Regions from separate parts of the Homo sapiens genome. Here regions 2, 3, 4, 5 and 6 are each linked to region 1. Evidence: promoter capture Hi-C in 16 types of primary human blood cells and fetal thymus (Javierre and others, 2016). All regions are on one chromosome and are shown on one strand. The core of a region is centred on a gene start or on the middle of the fragment in contact, and the rest is flanking DNA. Distances in the headings are between cores, read along the strand shown. Region 1 holds the start of BANF2 (BANF family member 2). Region 2 overlaps LOC107985440 (a long non-coding RNA gene). Region 3 has its middle 62 kb from the start of SNORD17. Region 4 has its middle 17 kb from the start of DSTN. Region 5 overlaps BFSP1 (beaded filament structural protein 1). Region 6 holds the start of LOC105372548 (a long non-coding RNA gene).

The links. Contacts are between HindIII fragments. The CHiCAGO score rates a contact against its expected background, and 5 or more counts as called.
Region 2: a contact is called between a fragment that was not itself captured here and the fragment with the promoter of BANF2 in region 1, in 2 of 17 cell types (naive B cells and M1 macrophages). The highest score is 5.3, in naive B cells.
Region 3: a fragment that was not itself captured here is called in contact with the fragment with the promoter of BANF2 in region 1 in 10 of 17 cell types (total B cells, M1 macrophages, naive B cells and 7 more); the score reaches 12.2 in total B cells.
Region 4: a fragment that was not itself captured here is called in contact with the fragment with the promoter of BANF2 in region 1 in 1 of 17 cell types (neutrophils); the score reaches 5.3 in neutrophils.
Region 5: a contact is called between a fragment that was not itself captured here and the fragment with the promoter of BANF2 in region 1, in 1 of 17 cell types (fetal thymus). The highest score is 5.0, in fetal thymus.
Region 6: a fragment that was not itself captured here is called in contact with the fragment with the promoter of BANF2 in region 1 in 1 of 17 cell types (M1 macrophages); the score reaches 5.2 in M1 macrophages.

Annotation. Positions count from the first base shown.
Region 1 is chr20:17,698,326-17,701,523 of GRCh38, forward strand. BANF2 (BANF family member 2) reads left to right here and starts at 1,641. Exons shown (of 4, transcript NM_178477.5): 1 at 1,641-1,730. LOC105372547 (a long non-coding RNA gene) reads right to left here and starts at 1,534. Exons shown (of 2, transcript XR_937294.2): 1 at 1,174-1,534. The HindIII fragment of the contact is 11,340 bases long and covers 1-3,198 here.
Region 2 is chr20:17,826,671-17,829,982 of GRCh38, forward strand. LOC107985440 (a long non-coding RNA gene) reads right to left here. Exons shown (of 3, transcript XR_001754511.2): 2 at 3,000-3,109. Among named protein-coding and RNA genes, the nearest start is that of BANF2, 130 kb to the left of the region's middle. The HindIII fragment of the contact is 1,708 bases long and covers 1,099-2,806 here.
Region 3 is chr20:17,899,244-17,902,482 of GRCh38, forward strand. No RefSeq gene overlaps it. Among named protein-coding and RNA genes, the nearest start is that of SNORD17, 62 kb to the right of the region's middle. The HindIII fragment of the contact is 1,633 bases long and covers 1,078-2,710 here.
Region 4 is chr20:17,550,909-17,554,307 of GRCh38, forward strand. It overlaps a transcript of BFSP1 not described here. Among named protein-coding and RNA genes, the nearest start is that of DSTN, 17 kb to the right of the region's middle. The HindIII fragment of the contact is 3,996 bases long and covers 1-3,318 here.
Region 5 is chr20:17,525,185-17,528,711 of GRCh38, forward strand. The region is part of intron 1 of BFSP1 (beaded filament structural protein 1); the gene reads right to left. Among named protein-coding and RNA genes, the nearest start is that of BFSP1, 4.4 kb to the right of the region's middle. The HindIII fragment of the contact is 4,339 bases long and covers 1-3,527 here.
Region 6 is chr20:17,872,245-17,875,381 of GRCh38, forward strand. LOC105372548 (a long non-coding RNA gene) reads left to right here and starts at 392. Exons shown (of 4, transcript XR_937297.3): 1 at 392-476; 2 at 609-679. The HindIII fragment of the contact is 1,269 bases long and covers 946-2,214 here.

The sequences.
Region 1 (3,198 bases), core at 391-2,890:
TTAAGGCCTCACTGGAAGCAAAGCAGGTGCTGGCACCGTGCTTCCTGAACAGCCTGCAGAACTGTGAGCCAATTAAACCTCTTTTCTGTGGAAATTACCCAGCCTCAGATATTTCTTTATAGGAAGAGAATGGCCTAGCATAGGCACCTACGGGTGGGTCCTGTGGGTCCTCTGGGACATGGAACAGGACATGACTCCAGGTTATTCCACCTGAGCAGGGAGGGAGCTGGGTTATTTATCTACCAACTGATAATAGTCATTGAATGAGGACATTCTGCAACTTGCAGCTGCCCGCTTGTAGGCAGGGTGGACTCCAGCAGCTGGCAAAAGCCCCCAAGCAAAGATACGCAGGTACTGGCAGCTGGGAGTCAGATTACCTTTGTACAATGAAGTTGTAAGGCCAAGAGGCTATGGGCAGGGCACTGACAACGTCAGTTGTGCTTCCCCAAAACGTGGCTCAGTTCTGGCAATGAATAGATCCTCAGTAAAGCGTGCTGGTTGAACCCAGAGAGCTCAGCCAGCTTTGGCCCCAAAGCTACAGCTCCTGTTTATTCTCCAGCAACCCCTGAATACTGCCATCAGCTGGCAATACTATTTCAGGATCAAACCTAAGATACCAGCACCCTTACATGTTCTTAAAGTGTGTAGTCTCAGAGCAAGCAGCCTCAACGTCATGTGGGAACGTGTAAGAAATGTGAATTATTGGGTTCTCCCCCAGACCTAATGAGTCAGAAACTTTGAGAGTGGGGCCCAGGAATCTGTATTTTAACGAGTCTTCCAGGTCATTCTAATGCAACCTACAGTTTAAGACCCACTGTTTTGGACTCTAAAATTTAGGGCCACCCAACAGTTTCCAAAGCGAAGCCGTTTGCTCTTGGTTAGAACTCCTCCATCCCCAATCCCAAGCACCAGCAGCAAAAGGGAATGGAATCTCTGGAAACATTTTATACTTTGCCCCCTTTTTTGAGTTTTTCTTTTCTTTTTAGGCTTAGTAAATATACATTGTACCAAGTTATCAATTACCAACAATGGAAAGTAGCCCAGGCATATATGCTATAGAGGATAACCTAAAAGACACCTGTGTTGAATTTAACTTGAAGGTGGGAGGATTTATATTTCTGCTTGTTTTCCTGAGCTAATATTTAAGTTACTTCTCTTTCCTTGAGTCCCTACCAGGTGGGCAGTAGGGGGAAAGTCACGGGTATACTGGTAGAAGAAAAAGCTGCCCTGGAATTTCAAGTCCATCACAGAAGATGTGCAAGGAGCTGGGGGTACCCACGGAAGTCACTTTGTGCAGGAAAACTGCATGAAGGATGGACTTGGTTTAACTGAATTGACGCAGGCCAGGTGAGAATAGGAACCGTGGCAGCAAGTGGCAGCAGGTGGATTCATAAGCAGTCTTCCAGGCTGATGTTTTCTGTACAGCAGACATCCCTCACTCTTTCCCAGCAACCCCAGCTGAGAACAGCACCCAGACAGGCTGATTTCTTCTGGAGAGGCCTGAGGCTCTTGCTCCTGCCCTGCCCTGTGCCCTGATGCCAGCAGCCACTGCAGCCCTTTTTGTGCTCACCCCCGACCTGTGGTGTGACATCACAATGTAGTCCATTCAGGATCTTGAGACTGATTTGCCCCATGGGCCTAAGACATAAGCTGAACCTCTGGCCTGCAGTTCCAGATCCAAGGTGACTGAGACAAACTGCCAGCTGCCACTGGCTTATCAGGAGCACCTGGTGAGTATTCAGAACTTTCCCAAGCAGCATGGAAGGAGATACAGCCAACAGCTGGCTGTCTTAGCACTTTAAGGTCTCATTCTCACACAGGTTTAGATGAGCCAAACCGGTGGACAGGAGTTCACCAGGTAAGCCCCAAACTCTTCCTAGGAAAGCTGACTCACCTGATGCACACACCCCTTCCCAGCCTCTTCCTGCTGTGTCACCATCTGCGGGAGGTGGTACTCTAGTCTCCCCTAAGACTCGGCTTGCCACCTGCACCAGCTCCCTGGGCAAAGGTCACCTGTGTTCTTAATAGAGCAGAGAGGCCAGGCTTTCAGATGGCAAATTCACTAGAGCATCACTTCTAGCCCTAATTGAGGTCAGGGACAGCCATTGGCCAAATGACACACCACATAGCAGGATGAGCAGAGGTAGCTGACACAGCCACCTCCCGTCCAAAATGTGAACGACGGTCCTTCCTTTCTGTAAGAGGCCTTCCTGCTTTGGCTGTTTTTAAATCCACCTCCTGGTGACCTGCTGGTATATCAAATCACTTCCTTTCCTTTTGGGACAGTAAGAGAGCTTTAGGATCGTGACGGGAAATAAGGAGATGGATTAGAACACCAGGAAAGTGGGCAAAATCTAAGGTAGCGGGGACAGGGACAGAGGCCAAAGCCATCTCTCAAAGAGGATGCTGGCTCTTTCCATATGGGCCACCTGCACTCGGCTGAGGGTGGTTTGAGACTCAAGGCCTTCTATAACAAACAGTAGGGACCCGTTCTGGGCCCCAGGAGGCACAGCTGCCTTCCCTACCATGGCCCATTCGTGTTTTCCCACAGTCTGTCTACGGTCCATTCACCATCTGTGAGTGCCAACACGTCCACACAGCTGCAGCTGCGTCCCTTCTCCCACAAAGGAGTGGCTTCTATAGGGACCCCATGATTTTAAGAAGGCTCCTGGCTCTCCTTGACTGTGTAAGGTAGAAAGGGAGGTGGTGGGGGGTGGATCAGAGAAATATTTTACCCTTAGGCTTTGCCATCCCTCCTTAGTTTTATATGTGATGGGCTGAAGCCAACCTCTGCTTCACACACAAATCCAAGACGCCAATGGTTCACCAAGCATGCTAAGAACATTTTAGCCTATGTTAGGCCCCACTGGAAAAGGAAAAAAGACAGTAGAGGGGCCGGCGCTAGAGCAACCTGTGGTCCCCGTCCTGCAGCAGGTTTAATTTGGAGAGGAGAAAGGGAGCAAACGCTGAACCTCCCGTGCCAGACCCACCAGCTATGTTATTGCTCTTAATTCCGACCTCTGTGAAGCAGGTGTTCTCAGGTTCATTCTACAGACATAGAAACTGAAGACTGTTCTGTGCTGGTGCCACGTCTAAAGAGGGTCATTAACCTGGAGCATGCCTTCACTCTCTATCGACTATCCCCAACATTAGAGCTCTCTGAAAAGAGAATGGGCTGCTTTGCAAGGCAGCAAGAGT
Region 2 (3,312 bases), core at 703-3,202, 130 kb after region 1:
AAGAAGTCAAAGGTCACCTCAGGTCCAAGAGCAGGGAATTAGATTCAATCTCTGAATGATAGCAGTGGCAGAAACAGGAATGCTTCATGGCAGAGGGAAAATACTCCACAGGATGCTCCCATTGCTCCAACAATTCTGCCACCAGCCACACCTCCACGGACTGCCTGCTGGAGACTTCCCATCCAAACTTGTGCTTCTGCACACGTCCCAGCCCTCTCAGATGCATCCTCTCTCTCAGTCTTCTCTGTCCCGTGCAACCCATGGTTCTAGATTGACATGGTCACCTTGGCTTTCGGTGTTTTTATTGTTATCTTAACCTTCATCAGATTTTATTATTTATTTATTTTTTTAAATTTATAATCATCTTCTTGGAGAATGATTCACCAAATTTTAAAATCCCAGACAATATAAACTAAGTCTTCCAAAATACTCTGTATATCCTACTGAACATCATTTCCATCCCTCCCACTGAGAATTATAGTGAACAGATGCAATCAATGTTTAAATTATGTATCTATGAATATGTAATTTATATATCCATACTTACAAGGCTGCCACATTGCATAACTCCAGGGAGGCACTTTTATGTTATAGGCTATGCAAATGGTGTCCCCTGGAGGTATGCAGTACGCAGCTCATACAACTGAACATGGCCTTCCTGGATATGGGTGCTTGGTAAGAGCATATCTTTTATTCGACCTCTCTAGTGCATACTCATTTTAGGGCAGTGGCTCTCAATCTGCACATTATAATCACCTGGGCAGGCCACACTGCCAAGCACTAAAATCTGAATCACCTCGCGGTGGGACCCAGGCATTGGCGTATTTAAAGTTCCCTAGGTGATTTTAACATGTAGTCAAGGTTTAGAACCAGTACTCTCAGGGGATGCGTACAGAATCCTTGAAAAGGGTTTTGTCTTTGGTAAAAGTGTAAAAATAATTGGCATTCATGTATAGAAAAAAAATAGAAAGTTGCAGGAAACTCTAAAAAACAAAATAAAACAAAACCAGTTCCATGCACTGAAGAAAATCCCTGTTGGGGTTTTTCTTTCTTTTCTCCATGAATATCCTTTGCCCCCTGCAGTCACACAGTGCAGAAAGCTTTGCTGGGCTTCACCCTGCCTCTCACTTCAGGTGGAAGGTGGAGAGGGATCATGGGGCTGTTGTTGGTGAACTTTGCTTTTCCCTCTGGCCTTAGGCCAAAAATGTGAGACTTTTTTGTTTGCAGAGATTGTCCTGTTCATCCCTTAAACAACCTTTCCTGGCCCAACGGACACTGTAGGACTTAGCTGGGTCAATGTCATGGTCTATACCTTCTGTGGCCTAAGCTGGCTCCAGACATTGGAGAGAGAATTGTATTAGCCTTGCTGGGCCTCGGCCCTGCCTTCTCCATGGGACATCTCCAGTGCAGGACCCTGGCTGATGGCCAGGCCTCTGCACATCCATTCTGTCATTATCCGGAGCAACCGCCCGCACCTCAGCCCCAAGTCTCCCACCTCATTTTGTTGGGTCCCTTGTTCCTGACCGGATACCTAGTCTGGTTCTCCTCTTCCTCTCCTAGGAACTTGCTTGCTCCTTTGGGAACTCTGAGCCTCAGACCTGGCAGAGCAGGAGTGTTACCCACTGGCAACATCCAGCTGGCCCCATCGCTGACCACCTACGACCTTTGGGACGTTTGGCTCCTTATCTTGACCCTGGGCTTGACCTGCTATTGCTGCACCATCAGAGAGAACCTTCCTCAGCAGCCAGCCCCGGAGTTCCTCTACTCCCACCTCCACCCTGGCTCTGGCCCCGCCTTCTGTGATGTGAGGGATTCATGAGTGCATTTGCTCTCTCCACAAATGTTTACTGACAGCCAATTATGCACCAGGCACGGCGCTTGGTGCCCACATTAGAAGAGGTTCCTCCCTCCTGGAGCAGACAGCGAATACACTGTCCCTGAGAGGGGTGTTACCAGGTGATAGGACCCTGCCTGGGATTTGGCGACCACTTCCCAGAGGAAAAGGGGCTGGGAGCCAAGACATGCAGGATGATGAGTAGCTGATGGGGTAAGGGAGCAAAAGCCTTCCAGAGAGAGGGAATGGCACATCCAAGGGTCTGTGCGGAGGCTGGAGGGAGGCCATCGTGGTGGGGTCTCTCCAAGCCAGAGAGTAGAACCAGGTGAGGCTGTGAGGTGGGCCGGGCCAGAGCACTAGATCCTGTGGGCCAAGCAAGATCTTAGTTGGCCTTCCAAGACCCTTCCACGGTTTCTAGGCAAGAGAGTGACACAATCAGACACACCCACTGATCAAACTATCCAGCTACAGATGCAGGAGACACCATTAAACACTCCCCTTGTATCATCTGTGGAAGGAGACAGACACTGGGAATGTGATTTGCCTGCCAGGATGGGAACTGGGTCACCCACTGAGGGGCAAGAGAAGAAGAAAGACTCCAGTGTGTGTATGTTCGTACACCTTCTTTGCCAGGCATGGTGGCTCACTTCTGTAATTCCACTGCTTTGGGAGGCTGAGATGGGAGGATTGCTTGAGGCCAGGAGTTCAAAACTAGCCTGGGCAACATAGTGAGACCCCACCTCTAAAAAAATAGAAAACAATTAGCTGAGTGCATTGGCACACATCTGTAGTCCTAGGTACTCAGGAGGCTGAAGTAAGAGGATCACTTGAGCCCAGGAGTTCAAGGCTGCAGTGAACTATGATTGAGCCACTGCACTCCAGCCTAGAGGACAGAGTGAGACCCATCTCTAAAAAGGACACACATGCACACAAATAGAATAAAAATTATGATTAATCTTGTCCCTTCAAAAAAGCTTGACTTTGCTATGGTTTGAAGGTTTGTCTCCTTTGAAATTCATCTTAAAACTTAATTCCTAATATGGCAGCATTGAGAGGTGGGGCCTTTAAAAAGGGACTGGATCATGAGGGCCATTCGTGTATTAATAGGTTCTTGGGTTATCATGGCGGTCGGTCATTAAAAAGCCAGCTTGACTCTTGCTCCTACCTCTGCCACAAGATCCCCTGCAGCACCTCAGGACTCTGCAGAAGAAGGCCACCAGCAAGAAGACCCTCACCAGATGCAGCTCCTCAGCCTTGAACTTCCCAGTTCCAGAACTGTAAGAAATAAATTTCATTTCTTTACAAATTACCCAGTCTCAGATATTCAGTTATAGCAACAGAAAACTGACTAATACAAGCCCGAATCTCTTCCTGAAGAGCAATTAGTCAAATCCAAATTGAGGCACGGTCTGTCAAACAAATGACTGAATGCTTTGAAATATCAGGGTCATGAAAGACAAGACAGGCCCAAAGGTGGC
Region 3 (3,239 bases), core at 644-3,143, 200 kb after region 1:
TGGACTTTAGCAAAATCATCAAGAACAAGAAAACATCAAGATGAGTTTCTGGTAAAGCATAAAAAGAAGTTCCTGGCTAGGCACGGTGGCTCACGCCTGTAATCTCAGAACTTTGAGAGACCAAGGAGGACAGATCACTTGAGTCCAGGAGTTTGAGACCAGCCTGACCAACATGGTGAAACCCCGTCTCTACTAAAAATACAAAAAGTAGCCAGGCATGGTGGTGTACATCTGTGATCTCAGCTACTCAAGAGGCTGAGGCACGAGAATCGCTTGAACCTGGGATGCAGAGGTTGCAGTGAGCTGAGATCATCCCACTGCACTCCAGCCTGGGCAACAGAGTGAGACTCTGTCACAAAAAAAAGAAAGAAAGAAAGATGTTCCCATTTTTTTTTCCTTTGGCCCAAGATGGTGGAAATGAAAGATGGCTTACTGGATTGGGAAATGGATTGGACCCTAAATCATTCTTTATCCACTCGTTCCACAGATACTGATTGGGCCTCTTGGTAGCCAGGCGGCGGGATGATGAGTAGTGCTGGAGGCCACTTAGCTGAGTTGTGCACACAAAATAACACAATGCACAAAAGGTTTATCTTCAGGAACTCATCCCGGGTAGAACAAGTGCTCAGCAGAGATCTGGGCTGGTGAAGGCAGCTTGCGGTCCCTGACTCTTCTGAGAACCTGGGGATCCAGGTTCAGGGAGACCAACGCTATTGGATACAAATCTTGAATTTAAAGAAATTGGGATGTAAATAATGATGCAATCCCCGAGGCTCATGGAGTACCCCAGTGACAGGAGAGGTTTTCCATGGGATTCAAGCAGGCTAATCAGCAAGACAATCTGGGCTGTCTCAGTGAGCCGTGGCCTGAGGCTACTTGTGGGCCACCTGTCCAGAATTGGAGGGGTCCCAGGGTCTGATGTAGCTTCAGAGAGATGGAATAGTAAAGAGGATCATGCATTGCAAAGTCCACAACAGCCCCCCAAAACAAGGACAGTCCCCTTATTTGATGAACTTTTGTTGGGTTCCTGTCTTGTGCCGAGCTGTGTGCTAGGTTCTGGGGAGACAGAGACCAATAAGCTTCAGAGACCTGAGAAGTAGGGTCCTTCTCTTCTTCATCACTTTCTTCACAAACCCACTTCAGTTTCCTCTTAACTCCTGGCATGAGTAAGGTGCTATTTCATAACCCTTTTATCTTTATTAAAGGTGTCAGGTATCCAATAGGAAAAAAAATGCACAAATGAATTTAAAAGGCATTCACACAAAAGGATATCAAAATGGCCAGTAAGTTCATAAAAAGATGCTCAACATCAGCCAGGCGCGGTGGCTCATGCCTGTAATTCCAGAACTTTGGGAGGTCGAGATGAGTGGATCCCTTGAGGTCAGGAGCTTGAGACCAGCCTGGCCAACATGGTGAAACCCTGTCTCTACTAAAAACACAAAAAATTAGCCAGATGTGGTAGCACATGCCTGTAATCTCAGGTACTTGGGAGACTGAGGCAGGAGAATCATTTGAACCCAGGAGGCGAAGGATGCAGTGAGCCGAGATTGCGCCAGCACACTCCAGCCTGGGCAACAGAGCGAGACTCCGTCTCAAAAAAAAAAAAAAGATGCTCAACCTCAATGGTTACAGGGAAATGCAAATTAGACCCACAATATGCTGTGACTATACACTCCCTAGAATGGCTAAAATTAAATTTCTGAAAATATCAAGCATTGGTGAGGATGTGGAGGAAGTGAACTCTTACATGCTGCTGGTGGAAGTATAAACCAGTACAAGCACTTTGGAGAACCATTTGGCAGTTTCTTCTAAAATTAAACATACACTCACCATGTGACCAAGCAGTTCCACTCCTGGGTATATACCCTGAAAGAAATGAGTGCGTACACACACCAAAAAACATGTACAAAAATACACATTGCTGCTAAATCGATAACAGCCAAAAACTAAATACAACTCAAATGCCCATCAATAGAAGAATAGATAAATACATTGTGGTGTACAGCACAGCAAGAAAAATGAATGGGTTGCTCTTACGTGAAATATGAATGAATCTCAAAAACACAATATTGATCACAAGATATCAAATAAGCCAGGCACAGTGTGGCTCACACCTGTAATCCCAGAACCTTGAGAGGCTGAGGCCAGAGGATCCCTTGAGTCTAGGAACTTAAGACCAGCCTGGGCAACATAGGGTGACCCCATCTCTACAAAAAAATTTTTTAAAAATTAGCTGGGTGTGGTAGTGTGCACCTGTAGTCCCAGTTCCTCGGGAGGCTGGAGCGGGGGCACCGCTTGAGCCCAGGAGTTCAAGGCTGCATTGAGCTATGGTCACACCACTGCACTCCAGCCTGAGTCACAGAGGACTAAGACCCCTTTTTAAAAAATAAAAATAAAAAATAAAAAAATAAAAGGCAAAACTTATCTACATATGATGAGAGAGGTCAGAATAGTGTCTACTTGTTTAGGGCAGTGGGAGATGGGGATTGAGTGAGAAAGGGCCTGAAGGAACTTACTAGAATGATGGAAATGTTCTCTATCCTGATCTTGGTGGTTGTTACATGAGTGTATACATAGGTAAAAATTCATTGAGCATCCACTTAAGATTTGTGTATTTTACTATATGCAAATTATGCATCAATAAAAGAGCAAAAACAATCAAAACTCTTAGGTGACCACACCTGATATAAGCATGGCTGATACATTAAAAAGCTTGCATATATTACAATGAATACCATCATTTGGGAATTTAATATAATTTTGTAACAGCCTCAGAAACAGTCATATTCCAGAGGCCCTTGGCAACAGCTTTGTTGCTTACAGCTCACCAGCACCAAAAGGGACCCGTCGCTTTCCAACCAAGGGGGCTGTGGCCCTGCCCAGAACTCTCAAGGGATCCACCTTTCTGGGTCGAACTCTCACAGCTCCCAGAGTACCTGGGGCCAAGCACGTGAGCTGCCAGCAGGCCTTAGCACCCTGGGATGCCAGACCTGCTCAAACTTGGAGAGGGTCCTACAGGTCCTTGGAGGAAAATTACAAGCCCCAAGTACACTGGACACACAGAGTTTGCCTGTGATGAAAACTTAGATGAAGGAAGAAGCCCTTTAGGAGGGTCTTTCTTGTCTTCTGCAGATGTGCGGCTCTAGCCGTGCTGCAACGCAGACCATGGACCAGGAGCTCCCAACCTCAGCTGCACAGCACAGGGGAGCATTGGAACATGGGATGCCCGGACCGTCTGA
Region 4 (3,399 bases), core at 71-2,570, 150 kb before region 1:
ATAGACAAGAAATGTGCCTTGCCAGTTTTACGATGGAGTTGATTTTAAAATGGTGCCACTCTGGCTCTCCTATGCTCCTGCTTCCCTAACATGATGACATGCAGTCCAGAGGTAGGCAGTTCAGGGCGAGTGTGGTGGAGCCTTCAGTCCCAGGTTCATTCCAACTCTTCACTCTGCTGGCTTTAGTATGTGGCTTAGTGCCTGTATTAGGCCATACTTGCATTGCTATAAATACCTTAGACTGGGTAATTTATAAAGAAAAGAAGTTTAGTTGGCTCACGGTTCTGCAGGCTGTACAGGAAGCATGGCACCAGCATCTGCTCGGCTTCTGAGGAGGCCTCAGGGAGTTTTTACTCATGGTAGAAGGCAAAGGGGGAGCTGTCTGGTCACACAGTGAGAGTGGGAGGAAGGCAGAGAGGTGCCACACACTTTTAAATGACCAGATCTCTCAAGAGTTCACTCACTGTCACAAAGACAGCACCAGGGAGAAGGCGCTAAGCCGTTTATGAGTGATCCACACCCACGATCCAATCACCTCCCACCAGGCCCCTCTTCTAACATTGGGGATTACAATTCAACTTGAAATTTAGAGGTGACAACATCCAAACTATATCAGTGCTCAAGCTCACAGATGGCTGCTACCCTTAGGTATCACATCTGTACCTGAAATCACTTGTACATCTACACCACCAATCTTATTCATGTATTTATTCAACAAATATGTATTGACAACCTACCCTGTGCCAACACTCTTCTGGGCCTTGGGATACAGAAGTGAAAAAAATAAAATAAGGCTGGGTGTGACGGCTCACACCTGTAATCCCAGCACTTTGAGAGGCAGAGGCGGGTGGATCACCTGAGGTCAGGAGTTCAAGACCAGCCTGACCAACATGGTGAAACCTCGTCTCTACTAAAAATACAAAAACATTAGCTGGGCATGGTGGCGGGCACCTGTAATCCCAGCTATTCAGGAGGCTGAGGCAGGAGAATTGTTTGAACCCAGGAGGCAGAGGTTGCAGTGAGCCGAGATCACACCATTGCACTCCAGCCTAGGCGACAACAGCAAGACTCTCTCTCAAAAAGAAAAAAAAAGAAGAAAATAAAAATCCCTGATCCCTGTTCTTGTGGAGCTTATATTCAATTGGAGAAAACAGAAAGTAAATAAGATAAATAAGTGAAAAATAGAGTATAATAAGTGGTGATAAGTGTTACAGAGAAAAATAAAGAAAAGGGAACTGGGAGGATGGTGGGGCATCTGGTAATTTTAGACAGGGTGGTCAGAGAAGACCTCACTGAGGAGGTTACATCTGAGTAGAGAACGGAAGGAAGTGATGGGAAAGCCATTTGGATTCTTGAAGAAAGAGCGTTCTAAACATGGGGAAGAATAAATATAATAGGATGTGCCTGGTTTGTTCAAGGAAGGGTGCAGAGGCCATCATGGCAAGAGTGGGGCAGGTGAGGATAGAGTGCGGGTCAGATGAGGTCAGGAAGGGCAACGAGAGGACAGATCCCACGGGATTTCTACAAATCCTCCATAAGGATTTGGCTTCACTGTGAGAGTAAAGGGAAGCCTTTGATAATTTTGGCAAGGAAGTGGCATAAACTGACCTACAACTTAACAGCATGGCTTTCATGGCTGTGCTGAGAATAGCAGAAGCAGAGAGACCAGCCAAGAGACCATTGCAGTAATCCAGTTTAGAGGTGATGGTGAGTTAGACCAGGGTGATAGCAATGGAGGTAATGAGGAGTGATAGAATTCTATATATATTTTGAGGGTAGAACCAACAGAATGTACTGATGTGGGATGTGAAAGAGAAGAGACAAGGATAAAATCTGAAGCTGGAAGGATGAAATTGACATTTACAAGATGGGGAAGACTGGAAGTGAAGCAGATTTGGGGGAAAAATATCAAGATTTCTGTTTTAATTATGAGAAGTTGAGATGTCTATGAAACATCCAAGGGCAAGTGTTGAATAGACAGTTGCATCTACAAGTCAGAAATCTGGAGAGAGGTCAAGGACAGACATAAATTTGGGAACCAACAGCAGAGAGAAGATATTTAAAGTCATGAAACTGAATCAGAAAACTAAGGGAATTAGTGCAGAGAGTAAAGAGAAGAAGTCTAAGAACTTAGTATGCATGGGGACTCTGGAGATCAGCGGTTAGGAGATGAAGAGGAACCAGCAAAGGAGCCTGAAAAGGACCAGATAGGTAGGTGGAAAATCAGGAAGAGTGTGTGGGATTCCGGAAGCCAAGTAAGTAAAGTGTTTCAAAGTGAAGAGAAGATATGACTGACTATGTTGTATGAGATGAGGACTAAGAATTGGCCATTGGATTTAGCAATGTGACGTTCCATGGTCATATGAGTAAAAGCAGTTTCAGGAAAGTGGTGGGGAAGAAACTATGAGGATGAAATGCCAAACTCAACAAGAACAACTAAAATCCATGGAATAAAATTCACAGGGTAGACAAAAAAACAAAAACAAAAATCCTCAATGAAAGAACAATTACTTCAATCAACAACTTCAACAAATATTTAGTGTTTATCATCTATGTGCCAAGTGACATTCGAAAAATTCATTGGCAATTCAGTGATGAAGAAAACAAAGTACCTATACTTATGGAGCAGATATTCTATTAGGGTTAAAGAGACAGTAAACAACTAAACAAATATACAGTGTGTCAGTTGCTGATAAGTGCTTCAAAAATCATACAGAACAGAAAGAGGATAGACAGTGGAGGCAAGTGGGGTGGCAAACTACTTTAGATAAGGTGATCATCAAGGCCTTTCGGATTTATTAGTAGAGAGCTCATCTTATACCAGTTAGAATTGGGATCTTTGAAAAGACCTGTTAAAAATATATAAACATATATATATATATATATACACACACACACACACACACACACACACACATATATATATATACACATATATATACATATATATACACATATATATACATATATATATATACACACATATATATTTCTGATGGCAAGTCTGAGTAAATACAAGAGAAGTCACAATTTAATTATCTTTGGCACAAAGATAATTAAACTACAGTTGCAGATGGCATATTTTTAGCATTAGGGAATAGAAACTATTATGTACAGTATTATGTCCCCCAAATTTAAAATCTACATAAAATGCATGATTTTCTAGAAAAAAAGACAAAGTGCCAAAGTTGACTCAAGAAATAGAAAACTTGAGAAGAACAAAAGAAAATATAAAAATTAGTTTAAGGCTGACTTTGTTAGATTTATGTTTAAGATCAGGTCTAAGGACCTGCTGGTTTCTCAGGCCAATACTATCAAAGCTTTAAGGTACAGGTAAGTCTTGCCTTATATAACTTGTTCAGAGAAAAGGCAAAGAAGGAAATAGTCCCAATTTATTCT
Region 5 (3,527 bases), core at 357-2,856, 170 kb before region 1:
TATTCCCAGCCACCCCAAGGATGAGGGAATTATATCCTAGCCTATCTATAACCCAAGTGCAGCAGTGGCAGAGATGGGAGACTGCCCTGCACAATCTACACCACCATTAACCTGACCGTACTTGGATTTCCTATAGTATTTTATTTGCTGACACATGTAATTTGTCAGTTTTTCTGGATTATGTCATTTAATCCTTACATCACCCCAGAAGAAAGCAGTTATTGTTAGTGCTGCATTAAAGATGAGGAAACTCAGGCAGATGCTCCGCACACTTTTCCCTCCTCCCAGCAGCATCACTCCCCACACAGCGATGGCCTCCTCTGGGCAAATGGGTGGGGCAGGCTGGACGTGCCAGGGAGTCAGGGCCTCTGGGAGCAGCCCACAAACTCTGAATGAGGCAAATTGGAGCATAAGTACCCCAGCTCCTTTTCTGCTCGGCTGGGACAACTGAGGCACGTCCCTCTGGGGGAATTTTAACCCTAAAGAGAGAAGATTCCTTCCTAAATGACCCCTCCCCTTGTTCCCTATAAGGTGACCCCCAAATGCCCATTCTTGCTGTCTTCAGGAGTTAGAGCCCTTGATGCTTGGCAAGCACAGGACTGCCTAGAAGGGAGACTACATTTTCCAGCATTCCTTGCAGCCAGGTGTGGCCATGTGACTAAGTCCTGACCAATGGGATGGAAGCATAAGTCTGCATGGCAGCTTCCAGATACCTTTAGTTAAGTAATGGTGTATGTGTGCCCTTTGCTTCTCATTTTCCATCCCTCCCTCCATCCTGCAGCCAGAAACATGAATGCTGCCTTCCTGAAGGCCACACAGAACCTTCTGTGTCCCAAATACTGTACAGTATCATACTAAACTGCTTAACCAGACCTTACACAAGTGAGAAACATTTTGGATAAGCCAATGACATTTTGGGTAAGCCAGTATCACTTTTTCTGTTTTTTTCTGTATGGCGGGGGGGGGGGGGGGGGGGCTGGTAAAATATGCATAACATAAAATTTACCAACTTAACCATTTTAAGTATATAGTTTGTGATAGTAAATATATTCATAATGTTGTGAAATCACCACCAACATCCATCTCTGTAACTCCTCATCTTGCAAAGCAGAAACTCCGTACCCATTAAATACTAACTCCCCATTCTCCCCATCCCCAGCCCTGACAACCACCATTGTACTTTCTGTCTCTATGAATTTGACACGCCCAACTACCTTATGTAAGTGGAATCATACAATATTTTTCTTTCTGTGACTGGCTTGTTTCACTTAGCATAATGTCTTCAAGTTTCAACCATATTGTAGCATATGTCAGAATTACCTTCCTTTTTAAGGGTGTATAATATTCTATGTATCGACCACATTTTGTTTACGTATTCCTTTGTCAGTGGACACTTGGGTTGCTTCTACATTTTAGCTATTGTGAACAGTGCTGTTATGAACACGTATATGCAAGTAGCTATTCAAAACCCTCTTTCAATTCTTTTGGGTATATGCACAGAAATGGAAATGTTGCATCATATGGTAACTCTATTTTTTAATTTTTTGAGGAACTGCCATACTGTTTTCCACAATGGCTGTACCATTTTACAGTCCCATCAACAGTCCATAATTTCTCCACATCCTAACAAACACTTATTTTCTGTTGTTTTTTGTTTTGTTTTGTTTTTTATAGTTGCCATCCTAATTGGTCTGAAGTGGGTCAATGTCAGTTTGGAGTTTCTGTCCTTTATAGTTGAAAGCAATCCTAATTAACACTGAGCCCAATCCACAAAGCATAGTTTTCTGTGCCCTTGCATGCCCATGCCATGGGTTCAAGTCAAGTATTCTGCAACCATGAAAGGTGCTAGAAAACCACACCACCATGTTCTCAGAAGGAAAAGTCATGAACTGAAGGAAGAACAATTATGAATATGTGCAATGTGCACGCATTCCCAGATCTAAAACCATCTGCGAAGCTGAGTTCTATCTAGGAAACTAAACATCTCTGCATAAGTTTTACATTTCACATCAGGATGTTACATTTAGTAGTTTATTTTGTGTGTTGCAATAACAGAGCCAGAAATTAGTTTTTAAATGTATAATTAGCTTTGAGAATAAAACTTAATAAAATCTAATTTTCTTATTGCTCTTTCCTGCTGGAAATATCTAAGAGTTTCCATAGCTTAAGAACATGTTTGAGGATCAACACATTAACCTGATATTGTGAGTAATTTTCATGCTGTAAAGACAAGTCTAGATATTATATTAAAGAGAAGTGATTTCCGGGCGCGGTGGCTCACGCCTGTAATCCCAGCACTTTAGGAGGCCGAGGCGGGCAGATCACGAGGTCAGGAGATCGAGACCATCCTGGCTAACACGGTGAAACCCTGTCTCTACTAAAAATACAAAAAAATTAGCAGGGTGTGGTAGTGGGCGCCTGTAGTCCCAGCTACTTAGGAGGCTGAGGCAGGAGAATAGCGTGAACCCAGGAGGCAGAGCTTGCAGTGAGCCGAGATCACGCCACTGCACTCCAGGCTGGGTGACAGAGCGAGACTCTGTATCAAAAAAAATAATAAAATAAAATAAGAGAGAGAGAGAGAGTGATTTCACTACAAAGAATTCATGATGTGTATATTCATATAAGTATATTCATAAAGTGAAAAAACTGGCTTCAATTAACTGTTTTACATAAATTATTTTTAGTTTTCAACAATTTGAATAATTGACTCTGTTGTTGTATTTTGATAGTTTTGTTTTTATTTCATTCTTGTTTTATTCAGTGTTTTGTTTAGTCTTTGACCTGTTAAAGACCTGATTTTGAAATTATTCAACTGCCAGGTAGAGACTATGCCTAGCACTGGCATGGAACCAAGCCTGCACATACTAACCCATTGCTGCATTATTTTCCCCTGGCTTTAGGTAGCCATCAACTCACCTCTGGAATGTAAACTCCAGCCTGGCATGTATGTGTATGTGTGTGTGCCTATGGATGTGGATGAGCATTTCTATAATGATTTTCAGTTCCCACTACCACAATCCAAATGTCAAAACTTCTCCAAGGGGGCAAAGGGAGGGAATAAATTAATATGAATTTTAAATAAATCACAGAGCCTGATGGAACTGCTTCATGATGGGCATATAACTCAGAACCAAGTGCAATCAGTAAAGACCAGGAAAACCCAACATGGCCTTTCCTTCAACTAGGACTCATGGATGTCATGCTTACCAGCCAAAGTACAGTAGACTATGGTCTAATGCCAACACAAAGGCCATCCAGGGAATCTTGATGGTCCATCAAGCTGCCCCGGATGTCTGAGCCACAGGGCACTTTCCCCCTTTGCTTTGGAGAACATGAGCTTCATCTGAATGAGGTCCTATTTCTGGGCCTTAGGCTGCAGGAGTCCAAGAACGGATTATCTCAAGATACAGTGTTCCCGAAAGAGCATAGGCCCAGGGTGAGAAAACCCAGGTTCAAGTTCTGCCACCCACAGGCCCTCTCCCAGGCTCAGTTTCCCCATGAAGTTCTGTAACAAGTGGATTTTCAGG
Region 6 (3,137 bases), core at 330-2,829, 170 kb after region 1:
TTAACAGTCCTGGAGAAAGAGAGGTAAGAGGATAAATAAAGATGGTGTAAATGGTGTGAAGATAGTTATCTGAAAAGGCTGCTGGGAGGTGCTGGTCTTTTGTTCTGTTCATAGGAGACAATTTTGCGTGCCTACCTTTTTTGGGAGTGTGATCCCCCTTCTTGCTGATGAGGAAGAAGCAAACTATCAGGTTTGAGACAGATAGCCCCCCCACTTATGAGAGGGCGACAGAATTTGAACTCAAAAAGACCCAACCACAGTCAGGTAGTATTGACCCGGGTGTGGTATTGACCTGGAAGTGGTATTGACCCGGAAGTGGTAAGAACATATAAAACTGGAGCCCTGGTTGTTACCACGGCAACCCGTAGTCTGTTGCATGCTGAGTTTGGGGGAGCAGAAGAGTCTCGCGGGGATAGTCAGTGCGCAGGGAGACTAGCACAGGCCGGCAGAGAAGTGACCCAGCCCCGGATTGCCTGGTAACCTTCCGTTCCCAGGAGGCTGCTGTGAGGCTCCTCTGGTAATCAGTTCCCTGAGTCCAGGGTTTCCTAATAGGAGCCCGTCTCCCTCCGGTTCACTTGAAGGGCTCTCTGCTTCTTTCCCTCAAACAGGCTTCATGGAGTATAATGGACCCACAGCCATCTCCTTCCCCAACACCAACTCTGCCTGCATTTTAGGCCAGGTTTGTAGGAGAGTTGAATGAAGATTGAATGAATGAATGATGAAAAGTACAAAATGCCATCACTTCACTTCTTTCAGGAAGACCCAGGACACTCTGCTGCATCCTCCACCTGTTTGTGAATTAAATGTCCATGATGGCTTTTACTAAGCACTTACTATGTGCCAGGCACTGTGCTGAGCTCTGCACCTTTAAGAGGCAGCAAGTCGTGACTGGTTCAGAGCTGGCTCAGAGCTGCCTGAGTTGGAAGCCTCGGATAGGAAAATGGAAGCTTAAAGAGGTTAAGCCCTGGCCAAGCACAGTAGCTCGTGCCTGTAATTCCAGCACTTTGGGAGGCCAAGGCGGGAGGATCACGTGGGCCCAGAAGTTCAAGACTAGCCTGGATAACAAAGTGAAACCTCATTTCTACAAAAAATTTAAAAATTAGCCAGGTGTGGTGGCACACGCCTATAATCCCAGCTACTCCGGAGGCTGAAGCTGGAATATCGCCTGAGCCCACAAGTTCAAGGCTGCAGTGAACTATGATCATGCCACTGCGCTCCAGCCTGAGTGACAGAGCAAGACCCTGTCACTAAAAAAGTTGGGGAGGGGGGTCAAGCCCTCTGCTGAGCTAGTAATAGTGGGACTGAGGTTCAAGCCCATGGCTGATTCCAGATCCTGTTTACAGAGCCGTTATGTGACGTAACTAAAGTGTTGATTATGCATCGACTAGGCACACCATGCAAGGTGCTGCGGATGCTGCTGTCACCAACACACCCAGTCCTGGCCCACAGGGGGCTGCCACCCCAGCCCCCAGTGCTCTCCCTGGATCCTGAATCCTAGCTATCCCTTCAGAGCCACCCCTCTGGCTTCCAAGCACCTGCACTACCCACTCCCACCCCTCCCTGGAAGGGATGGCGCAGCCTGGGAGCCAGCTGCTCTGGGGGGCTCAGACCTGTGGGCTGGATTGTCCATGTGTCAGGGAAGGAAAGGGAAGCCCATGGCAGGAGGGACACCCTCTTATGGGTGGTAGCAACTCCATGGAGCCCAGGCTGCATCGTTCACTGAGGCTGCTAATGTTTGAACCTATCTTTGAATAAGATCCACCCTCTTGCACTGGCAAGTCCAAGCTGTAGTAAACCCTGAGGGAGACCCACAGTCCAGCTGCAAGGCCCTGCCCCACTCTTGGCCGCTGGCAGAAGCTCCAGGCTTGCCGAGGGGTGCCACGTAGCAGAGGCAGTCTCCGCCTCTAGCCCATCCCACTCCTTCATCTGCTTCTCGTTAGCTTCAAAAGTAAGGCCTGGCGCTGTGCCCTGGGCAGGAGGGAGAGCTTGGTGTGGCCGCTCAGAGCTTCACCTCCCTTGCCTGGGGTTTCTCTTCTCCTGCCCCATCCATCGTCAGCACAGCTGACTGCTTCTGGGGCTCCTCTGTCTACCTTCCCCACGTTCCAGCACCCCCCTTCCCCTGCCCCTCTGTAGCAACCGCCTCCCTGCAAAGCCCCACCCACCCACACACTCATACACACACCCCTCTCACTCCCCTGGCACTCAGTCCCTCCAAGCTTCCTTCCTTATCCCTTTAGAGCCCTGCAGCCCTCAGGCAGTGTAGCCCAGAGGTTCAAGGGCATTCGCTCTGGTATCAGAAGGGTCTGGGTTCAAATCCCTTGTGCACTGCTTGCTGGCTGTGTGACTTTGGGCAAGTTGCCTAATCTCTCTGGTCCTCAGTTTTTGCATCTGTAAAATGGGGATGATATTAACAGTACCTACTTCATAGGGTTATCTTGAGGATTAAATAAAATAGTACAAGTAAAGGTCCCAGCATAAAATCAGGGCTGATCCACCTTAGGTATAAAAAGGATAAATTAGGACTTGGAATCTTACTCTTCCTAAGGAGACCTGCAGTTGGCTAAAGGAGGACCTGCCTTCAGGGACAGAAATTCAGGTTTTGTTTTAGAATAGGCCTGAGGGAGTAGGAAGCTGGAGGAACCTGTCTCTATATTCTGGATACCTCAAAGACAGTTAAATTCTGCCGTGGTGAGCATTTATTGAGCACTATCTGTGTGCCAGGCACTGTGTGGGGAAACCACAATCCCTGCAGATCAAGGAGCTCAGATTCTAGTGCCAGAAAAAAATGTAAAGAGAAAGGGCCACCATGCCACCCACTGAAGACGGCAAGGGAAGAGGCCAGAAAGTGCTACGAACAAGGAGGAAACAGCTCCAAGTTGTTGGGCAGTCGGGCGCTGGGTCTCAAAGGAGGGCCACTTGCATGGACAGAAGGTACCCCTCTTACTGAGCACTGGGGGCCTGGTGGGTCCCCTGTGCTCTCCAGGAGAAGCAGGCAGAATTCCTAAGCCCCGTTAGGCCAATGAGGAAGTTGAGGCACCGAGAGTAAGGGGCATCTGCTTCCCCACCAGCTGACTTCTATTCTAGAAAGGAATGTTCTGCACAACCCCAAACCGTCAGCTCTTTCTGCTTGCAAACTT